Regions from separate parts of the Homo sapiens genome. Here regions 1 and 3 are each linked to region 2. Evidence: promoter capture Hi-C in 16 types of primary human blood cells and fetal thymus (Javierre and others, 2016). All regions are on one chromosome and are shown on one strand. The core of a region is centred on a gene start or on the middle of the fragment in contact, and the rest is flanking DNA. Distances in the headings are between cores, read along the strand shown. Region 1 holds the start of ZNF660 (zinc finger protein 660). Region 2 overlaps KIF15 (kinesin family member 15). Region 3 holds the start of ZNF852 (zinc finger protein 852).

What was found. Contacts are between HindIII fragments. The CHiCAGO score rates a contact against its expected background, and 5 or more counts as called.
Region 1: the fragment with the promoter of ZNF660 here is called in contact with a fragment that was not itself captured in region 2 in 1 of 17 cell types (naive B cells); the score reaches 5.1 in naive B cells.
Region 3: the fragment with the promoter of ZNF852 here is called in contact with a fragment that was not itself captured in region 2 in 5 of 17 cell types (naive CD8 T cells, fetal thymus, total CD8 T cells and 2 more); the score reaches 7.5 in naive CD8 T cells.

What each region holds. Positions count from the first base shown.
Region 1 is chr3:44,583,665-44,586,655 of GRCh38, forward strand. ZNF660 (zinc finger protein 660) reads left to right here and starts at 1,300. Exons shown (of 3, transcript NM_173658.4): 1 at 1,300-1,343; 2 at 2,441-2,549. ZNF660-ZNF197 (ZNF660-ZNF197 readthrough) reads left to right here and starts at 1,300. Exons shown (of 8, transcript NR_147692.2): 1 at 1,300-1,343; 2 at 2,441-2,549. All of the region lies in intron 2 of ZKSCAN7-AS1 (ZKSCAN7 ZNF cluster antisense RNA 1), which reads right to left. The HindIII fragment of the contact is 2,337 bases long and covers 1-2,155 here.
Region 2 is chr3:44,844,687-44,847,620 of GRCh38, forward strand. All of the region lies in intron 30 of KIF15 (kinesin family member 15), which reads left to right. It also overlaps the pseudogene HNRNPA1P77. Among named protein-coding and RNA genes, the nearest start is that of MIR564, 16 kb to the right of the region's middle. The HindIII fragment of the contact is 209 bases long and covers 1,261-1,469 here.
Region 3 is chr3:44,508,899-44,511,926 of GRCh38, forward strand. It overlaps ZNF852 (zinc finger protein 852), which reads right to left and starts at 1,719. Exons shown (of 4, transcript NM_001423469.1): 1 at 1,655-1,719. RefSeq lists enhancers at 1,102-1,878, 1,879-2,655, 2,114-2,173 and silencers at 1,484-1,643, 1,654-1,713, 1,844-1,893. The HindIII fragment of the contact is 19,774 bases long and covers 1-3,028 here.

The DNA.
Region 1 (2,991 bases), core at 50-2,549, 260 kb before region 2:
AAAACTATTAATCCCTCTCCCTAAACCTGTTCCTTTCAAGCTACTCGATTTCTAAAAGACCATCCCATGCTAGTTGCTCAGATCAATAACCATGGAGTCATCAGTAACCAACATTCAATTCATTAGCAAATCATGCAGGCCATGCCTTCAAAATATATGCAGAACCATTTCTCACTACCTGCATCACTTCTAAGCCTGTCCAAGCCACTATCAGTCCTCATCTGGAATATTGTAATGGCCTCTTAATCTCCCTGATTCTACTCTTACCCACCTTCAGACCGTTCTCAACAAGACAGCCAAAGCAAACTAAAAATATAAGTCAAAGAGCAAAATTCATGCAAGGTTTATGTTAGAATGGCTAAGGACAGACAGCAAAGAATTCACAGAATTTATAGTAACAGGCTTCTTGGCTTCTTTCATGTCTCATAGCTAACAAGTCTTTGAATATGTGGTAAGGGAAAAAAAGTTAGATCATGTCGTTCCTCTGTCCCCAAGCCCTCCAGCTGTTATGCAGAGCAAATCCAAAGCCCTTATCATAGTCTACAAGATCCTAAATGTGCACCTCTCCACCCCACTCCTGATTAAAGAATTTTGCTCCTAATGGCCCACTATGGGAATACTCTTTCCCCAGATAGCCACATGCTTCAATTGCCCACTTCCTGTCTCTGCCCTCCCTGTCATCTGTAAAATAGTCCCACCACTATCTCCCTCTCTCCCCTTACTCCCTCTCTCCCCTTACTGCTACGTTCTACATATTTATTTATCATTGTCTCCTTGACTTGAATGTAAACTCAATGGGGCAGAGAGTTCATTTTCTTCACTACTGTATCCGCAGCGCCTGGAACAGTGAGTGACATAGTAGGCACCCAAAACGTCTTTTCATATGCTGCCAATAAACCATAGCTGATCCTGGCTTTGAGGCTGAATGACCCAGATCTGTGGAAGGAAAGATGACCTCTCTGCTCAGCAACCGGAGCTGGGGGTGTAACTTTAGGGAGTCTCAGCCTGAGGCTGGCAGCCTGGCCACCCAGATGCTCGGTCTCTTTCCGCCCTAACCAAGCCCCCTGCCCAGCTTCCACCACTTCCAGGGCCCTCCTCACATTGGCTGAAGTCGCCAAGCCCTTCCATCCAATGATAGGGCAAAGCCCGGAAGGGAGGCAGGGCCAGAGCGTCGGCCGACCGCGCGGGGCTTCTGAGGGGCGGGGGGACTCCAGCCCGCGGGCACAGAGATGTGGAAACCTCACGAAGCCTAGAAGGGCCGGAGGGACAGGCTGGGAGTTAGCTGGGAGTTGCTGACGCAGTTCCTTCTGCGCTTTGTTCAAGATGTGGGTCTGGCGCTTTCGGTGAGGGGTGCTCTACAGTCTGGCGTGGGGGGTCGGGCCGGGTTCTGGGAGCGTGTGGGAGACGCAAGCCAGGAGGCCAGGGCTCCTCTGCGGCTGCCCGCTGCTGAGATGGGCGCGGCAGCCAAGGGGTCGTTGTGGGCCTCCCCTTTCTCTCGTTCAGTGCTGCCCCTTTGTCTTGGGTCCAGTCTCTGACTCCTCGTAGCTGCTCGCTTGGACCAGGCTGGCCGTGGTGACAGCACTGTGTCGTCCCCGCTCCTAGGCAGTGGGCCTTCCGGGTAGTAGCGGTCGAGTCCCGCCTAGGCTCTCAGGACTCCACAGCCCCTGAGTATTTGACTCAAATCACCAGTCCAATATCCCTCCCGTTACCAGTGAGGAACCTGGGGCCCAGAGAAGAGGACGGAGTCTTGCCCAAGGTTACTCATTCATTCATTGATTCATTCAACAAATATTTATTGAGCACTAACCCAGTAGTGTGCTAGGTCCTGGGGTTATGGTTGTGTACAGGACAGAACTAAATTCTAGTAGGGGAGAAATGAAACAAACTTCAAGGGTTAGAAGCAGAGCCTGGGGATCTGGAGGGGGAAACACAAAACATATTTGAGGCTTAGTAATCCTAAGAAATGGGTAAACAGAAAAAAGGAACATTCTTTTTCTAGTGCTCTTTTAAAGACTTGTTTCTTTCTGTCTTCCTAAAGACACTTGACTCAGCAAAGTTCTCCCTCTCATCCCCCTTGTGCAGACTTTCTGTGGAAAGCTGGATTGCAAGGAAGTTCTCCACTGCATTGTATTTTGCAGTTAGATGAGAATATGGAAGCTTTTAGATATCAATGGAGCAGGTGAAAAGGGGAGGCTGTGGTGTGATGGAATTAGGATTTCCTGAAGACACAGAAGGCTTTTTAATCACTCACTAGCTATAGGACCTTGGGCAAGTCGTTCAATCCCTGGGAGCTTCATTCCCTCATCTTTACACTGGAAATGATCCTTCTTACTGCCCACAGTTCTATAGGAAGGGAAGTTACCCAAAGATGGGACACTGCCCTGAGTGTCCACTTGGAATTCAGGGCTCAGAGAACTCAGTCATTTATATCTGTTTACAGTGACTCAAGACCCTCTTAGGAACTTCTTCACTGAACTCAAGGAGGAGATCAGGCAAGATCTGTGCTGTGCAGATCCTTTGGATTGAGGCTGCTGTGCACAGGAATATGGGTGAGTCATTCCATTCTCTCCTGGGCAGGTGAGGCCTAGATTGTGAAGTTAGTCTGGGCACAGGAATCCTGCTTGTGGGCACCAGGGTTGAAAGGGAGCTTCTCTCAGTGGTATTTATCAAACAGGAGAAAAGCACTGAAGTGGGCAGGGGGCCTCTGGACCTTGAGGAGTAGAGTTTTGTTTCAGATGGGAATAAGGGTGATGTAGTAGAACTCAAAATTGGGTGTCATGGGACTTGGATTTGAGTCCCAGCTTTCCTCTAAGTTCCAAGTTTTCCTTCTGTACATTTGGATATAAGACTGGATAGACTGGGAGGTTCCTTCCAGCTCTGACATACTGAGAGTCTCTGAATAGTGGGACCAGGTCAATCTCTTAGGGAATTTAGTCCCTGGGATGACTCTGTTGAGACAGAATTGCCAAGAATGCAAATACACCATTATGG
Region 2 (2,934 bases), core at 115-2,614:
AGAAGCTCTTCATCAGACGATTGAGCTTTGAAACAACCAATAAGAGTCTGGGGAGCCATTCTGAGTAGTGAGGAAAGCTCATGGATTATATAGCAATGAGAGACCCAAACACCAAGCATTCCAGGGCCTTTGGTTTTTCACAGATGGCACTGTGGAGGAGATGGATGCAGCCGTAAATCAAGGCGACACAAGGCAGATGAAAGAGTTGTGAAACCAAAGAGGGATGTCAAGAAAAGATTCTCAAAGACCAGGTGCCTGGTTAACTGTAAAAAAGATCTTTGTTGGTGGCATCACAGAAGACACTGAAGAACATCACCTAAGAGATTATTGTGAAGGTATGAGAAAATAGGAGTGGTTGAAATCATGACTGAGTGAGGCAATGGCAAAAAGAAGAGCTTTACTTTTTTAACCTTTGAGGACAGCCATGACTCTGCGAATAAGATTGTCTCTCAGAAATACCGTAAAGTACATAGCCACTACCATGAAGTATGGAAAACCATGTTGAAGAAAGAAATGGTTAGTACTTCAGCCAGCCAGAGAGGTCAGAGTGGTTCTGGAAACTTTGGTGGTGGTCATGGAGGTGGTTTTGGTGGGAGTAACAACTTTGGTCATCAAGGAAAAATTTCACTGGTAATGGTAGCTTTGGAGGCAGCTGTATTGGTGGATATGGGGGCAGCAGGGATGGCTATAATGGATTTAGTACTTAAATGATGGAAGCAGTTTTGGAGATGGTGGGAACTACAACGATTTTGGTAATTACAACAACCAATCTTCAATCAATTTTGAACCCATGAAGAGAAGAAACTTTGGAGACAGAAACTCTGGCACCTAAAAAAAAAAGAAAGAAAGAAACTCTGGCCCCTGTGGTGGCTGAGGCTACTATGTTGCCAAAACATCAAATCAAGGTGGCTAAGGCATGTGAAAGTTGCCAGTACCAGAATGGAGTCACTTATGTCAAAACCCTAACAAAGTGGAGTCAGGAGGCCCTAAAAAAGTTCTCACCGCACATGCCTATAATATACCTTATCACAAGAAATTCCTGCAGGTCCCACATGCCCCACTTCTGCACTCACCCTGCAACAGAGCTTATCACAGGAATTTTTCAGGCCTGCAGTATTTCAGACAAGCTGCCAGCACCAGGACAGTTACTCAGCAACAGCCATCTCCACCAATGAATAAACGCCAACTCCTGCACTGAGCTTCTGTGACCCGTGAGCTTTATTTCAAGCTTTATTTCATGGATTTCTCTTTGTCTTTAAAAGCTTTCCCTTTCCCCAACTCCCCTGGATACATTAATGGCCCGTCATAGCTTGCATACCCTGCAATTGCAATCCCTCTGCTATTCCTAGATAAACTTGTTTGTTCTAAAGAGCCTGTCTTTCTGAGTTTCTTTTTAGGTTGACAGGCAGTTCCAGTAGCAGCAGTAGTTATGGCAGTGGCAGAAGGTTTTAATTAATGCCAGGAAACAAAGCTTAGCAGGAGAGGAGAGCCAGAGAAGTGACAGGGAAACTACAGGTTACAACAGATTTGTGAACTCAGCCAAGCACAGTTGGTAGCAGGGCCTAGCTGCTACAAAGAAGATATGTTTTAGACAATACTCAGGTGTATGGGTAAAAAACTCAAGGACCGTATTTGTGACTAATTGTATAACAGGTTAGTTTAGTTTCTGTTCTGTGGAAAGTGTAAAGCAGTCTTAACAAAGAGTTTTAATGTGTTTTTTTTTTCCTTTGCACTCATCCTGTTGATTGCCAAATGTCATAGTCTGATCATGATGTTGAATAAATGTCTTTTAAAAGATGTTTTTCACTGGGTGTCGTGGCTCACGCCTGTAATTCCAGCACTTTGAGAGGCCGAGGCAGGCAGATCATTTGAGGTCAGGAGTTTGAGACCAGCCTGACTAACATGGTGAAACCCTGTCTCTACTAAAAATACAAAAAATGAGTCAGGAGTGGTGGCACGCACCTGTAATCCCAGCTACTCAGGAGGCTGAGGCAGGAGAATCGCTTGAACCGGGGAGGTGGAGGTTGTAGTAAGCTGAGATTGCACTGTTGCATTCCAGCCTGGGACAGAGTAGGACTCTGTCTCAAAAAAAAAAAAAAAAAAAAAGTTTTTCATTTCATAGCCTCACATTCCTTATATATAAAAGAGCTACTCAGAACCTTCTTTGTGAAAAATTAGAGAAAGGGCAGACTATAGCTCAGGGGCCTAATTCAGCTCACAACCTGTTTTGTAAATAAAATTTTATTGAGACATAGTCACACCCTGTCATTTTAATATTGTTGTGGCTACTTTTGCACTACAATAGCTAAGTTGAATAGCTGTGGCAGAGACCGCATGGCTCCCAAAGCCTGAAATATTTACTGTCTCGTTCTTGACAGAAGACGTTTGCCAATCCTTGGATTAGTGGACAGAAAACATATCTTTCCCTAATGATTTGGGGTATTTCTTCATTGAGGACTCATTACCATTTTTGTCTGGGCTGCCAGATTTGTTAAGGGAAAGAAACCTCACTGTAGCTTCTGTTTTCCTTCAAGAAATGGTCTTTTACTCACCAGTGAGAGAGATATTCCTAGAGAAGCCTACAACATTCAGGAAGGTTCTCCAAGGAGGGAGGGAGGGATGTCTCTCTGGTCCAGGGGCTGCACACAGAAACTCAACTTATTATCCTCACCTGGTCAGGCTCACAGAGATAGATGTATTATCTAGAATGTAATTTTCTTACTTTATATATTGGAACATTCCTTTTCCATGAAGACATATCTGGTGCTTGGGACATCTGGCCCTGGTGTCCACATACACGGAAAGGCAGAGTGGTTATCAGAAAATGCCAACTGACTATGGAACCTGAGCAAAAGAGAGTCAAGGACTCCACTAGCCTGAGGCCAGAGCGACCCTGCCTACCCAAAATGTGCCCCCTCCCAGCTGATCACATTC
Region 3 (3,028 bases), core at 469-2,968, 340 kb before region 2:
GGCAGAGAATTGCTTGAACCCAGGAGGCAGAGGCTGCAGTGATCCAAGATTGTGCCACTGCACTCCAGCCTGGGTGACACAGAGTGAGACTCTGTCTCAAAAAAAAAAAAGAAAAAAACCATAAAGACTCTAAGAACCCTGGTGTAACCAAGAATTTCTTAAGACAACAAAATGAAAAGAGTGAATATATTTGAATACATCAATATGAAAAAAATCTCTGTCCAAAAGAAAAGCAAAAGAAAAAAACACCAAACACAAACCACTAATAGATGTGGAAATGTAATAGCCAACAGGAAGGATAGTTTGAAAGTCCACAGTAAAACTAAAAAGACATATTCCTTACGCTACAGGAATTTAACTTGTAAGAATCTGCCCTGAAAAACACTTGCACGGGTATTCAGACATTTACACAGGTATTTACTAAAATATTCTCTGTAATAACATAATACTGGATTTAACCTACTTGTCCATCAATATGGCTAAATAAAAGTAGCATTTTTATAGGATGAAATACCATACAGCACCTAAAAGGAACATACTAGATCCTTATGCATCACCATGACTGTTCCACTATTCACCAGGTGGCCAGGCTGTGCTGCCAAGATTAAAAGGCCATCCAAGGAAGGGATAGCACATGATTTGAGGTCGCTGAGGACAGATACCAACCACATCAGGCCCCAAGAGGTACAGCGTATACTTACAGCAAAAGGAGAAACAGGGAACAAGATCCAGCCTCCTGCAATGCAAAGAGCCCCCACACCCAGCAGATCCACTCCACAGCTATAGGGCTGGTGTGATGCACACACCCCACTTAGTAAGGAAGAAAGATCTCAATCCACCCTCCCCACTCCTATGGGGTGTGAAATACAGAAGGCTGAGAGAATGAATGAAGGCCACTGACTTAAGAGATTAAACACAACAAAGGAGTACACATGAAGCCTGAAACACTGAAAGACACAAGGCATTAAATGCAGCAGCACAGGCTGTGAGGGCTCTAACTCTGCAAGGAAATGTTCCAGGCTCAAGGTCACTCTTACATTCTTAACTTGGCAATGGGCTATTTAAAAAAAAAAAAAAGACATTAAAAACTGTCAATTCTTCTTGTCTCCCAGTTTAGATATTCCTTCTTTCATTAATTTAACAAACACCTTCTAGGAGCACCTACTATTTCCCATACACTAAGGTAACAGCAGTTAATAAAGCAAACAGAAAGCACTGCCCTGGCAAGGGGCTTATGGGAAGATAACCAATAAACAAATACATGCTATGTTAGACGGCGACAGGTGCCAGGAAGTGAAATAAGACAAGAAAAAGGGAGAAGTCTATGCCAGATGTTTTCAATGTCAGGAGACCTGGAGACTAAGATTTCCGGACGGTGGCTACTTTCACTTTTCTTCCACTTATCTAATTGTCTCTAATAAGTACGCTTTATTCGCATAATTGGGTGAAAAGATAAAGCCAGAAGAAACCGGGAATTTTCCAGATTCTCTGCCCCAGACGCCCGGGGGGCGAAGAGGTATGCCCTCGGCGCGGCCGGGCGGGATCCACGGCCAGACCCCCGCCCCGGGTGCAGCCTCCAGGCCCGGCCTCACCTGCCACTCTCGCACGCACAGCCGCCCCCGCTCCGCACCCCGCGCCCCGCCGGGCCGCTCACCGACTCCGCCGCCGAGAGACAATCATCCAAACGCCGCCACCGCAGCCGACCGCCCCGCGCCTACCTCCCAGCTTCCCCAGTTGCGCACGCGCGTCGCCTCCCCGGGCCCTCTGCGGCCTCTCTAGGAAACTGGGAGGGCCAACATCTCTGCTTCTCCCTGGGCCCAGGGCCGCTGGCGGCGGGCGGCGGGCGGCGGGCGGCGGGCGGCGGGCGGCGGGCGGCGGGGCTTGTCCAGCATCCTTCGCCTCCTTCCGCGGACACTTGTCTTCCACGCTCTGATGCCCAGGCGCGCTCCAGAACTCTATCGGCTTTGGCGTATTATCCTACATCCCTCCCATCGGTTCTGCACGGCTGCCCTGGAGGCCTCTTTTCCTTCAGGGAAGAAAGGGATCCAAAGCTAGCGGTGAAAATAGAGCCAGCGGCCTGGCGCGGTGGCTCACGCCTGTAATCCCAGAACTTTGGGAAGCCGAGGTGGGCGGATCACGAGGTCAGGAGATCGGTGGCTAACACGGTGAAACCCCGTGTCTACTAAAAATAAAAAAAAAGTAGCTGGGTGTGGTGGCGCGGCGCCTGTAATCGCAGCTACTTCGGCGGCTGAGGCAGGAGAATCGTTTGAACCTGGGAGGCGGAGGTTGCAGTGAGCCGAGATCGTGCCACTGCACTCCAGCCTGGGAGACAGAGCCAGACTCCGTCTCAAAAAACAAACAAACAAAAAAATAGGGCCAGCACATCCCCAAACATAAAACCCTTGAATGGAGAAATTCCCAAACAAGGCAATAAGCCCAGCACTGGCCGTGAGAGTTTATTATCCCCTTTTAAGTAAATGCTACAAGCCCTAGGCGCACTTTTGCAACTGTTCAAGGGTCATCAGGCTGCACATGACTGACCAAGACACTCAGTTGCCCACTTTGGATGGAGCTACAGCTTTGTGGGAAAAACAGATAATAGAAATTACACAAATACATCAATGTCAAGTGGTTACGAACACTGTTGAAATGTAACAGAGTTATTTAATTGACAGCGACTGATGATAATGCTTGTATTTTTTCTGGTACTTTTCTGTATACTTCCGGTAGCTCATAACACACTGGCTGCCATGCATTGATTTGAGTTGCCCAAGGAAATAGAGTCAGTAACTGGAATAGCCACTGAATCCAAATCTTTTGGTCTTTTCACTACTGTGCTTCATAAAAGCTCTCCCGTCCCACGTCCCTGTAGAGGGAGAGTTGGGGATAGCATGGCTCCTAGCTGAGATCCCAGAAGCTAGGGGTAGAAGGTTGTGGGCAGGATAGTGAGGAGGGCAAGATTCCAAGGAAAACTAAAATCCCTGCCCAGGAACGGTTACCACCTGGGAAAGCAGGAATGACCCAACGC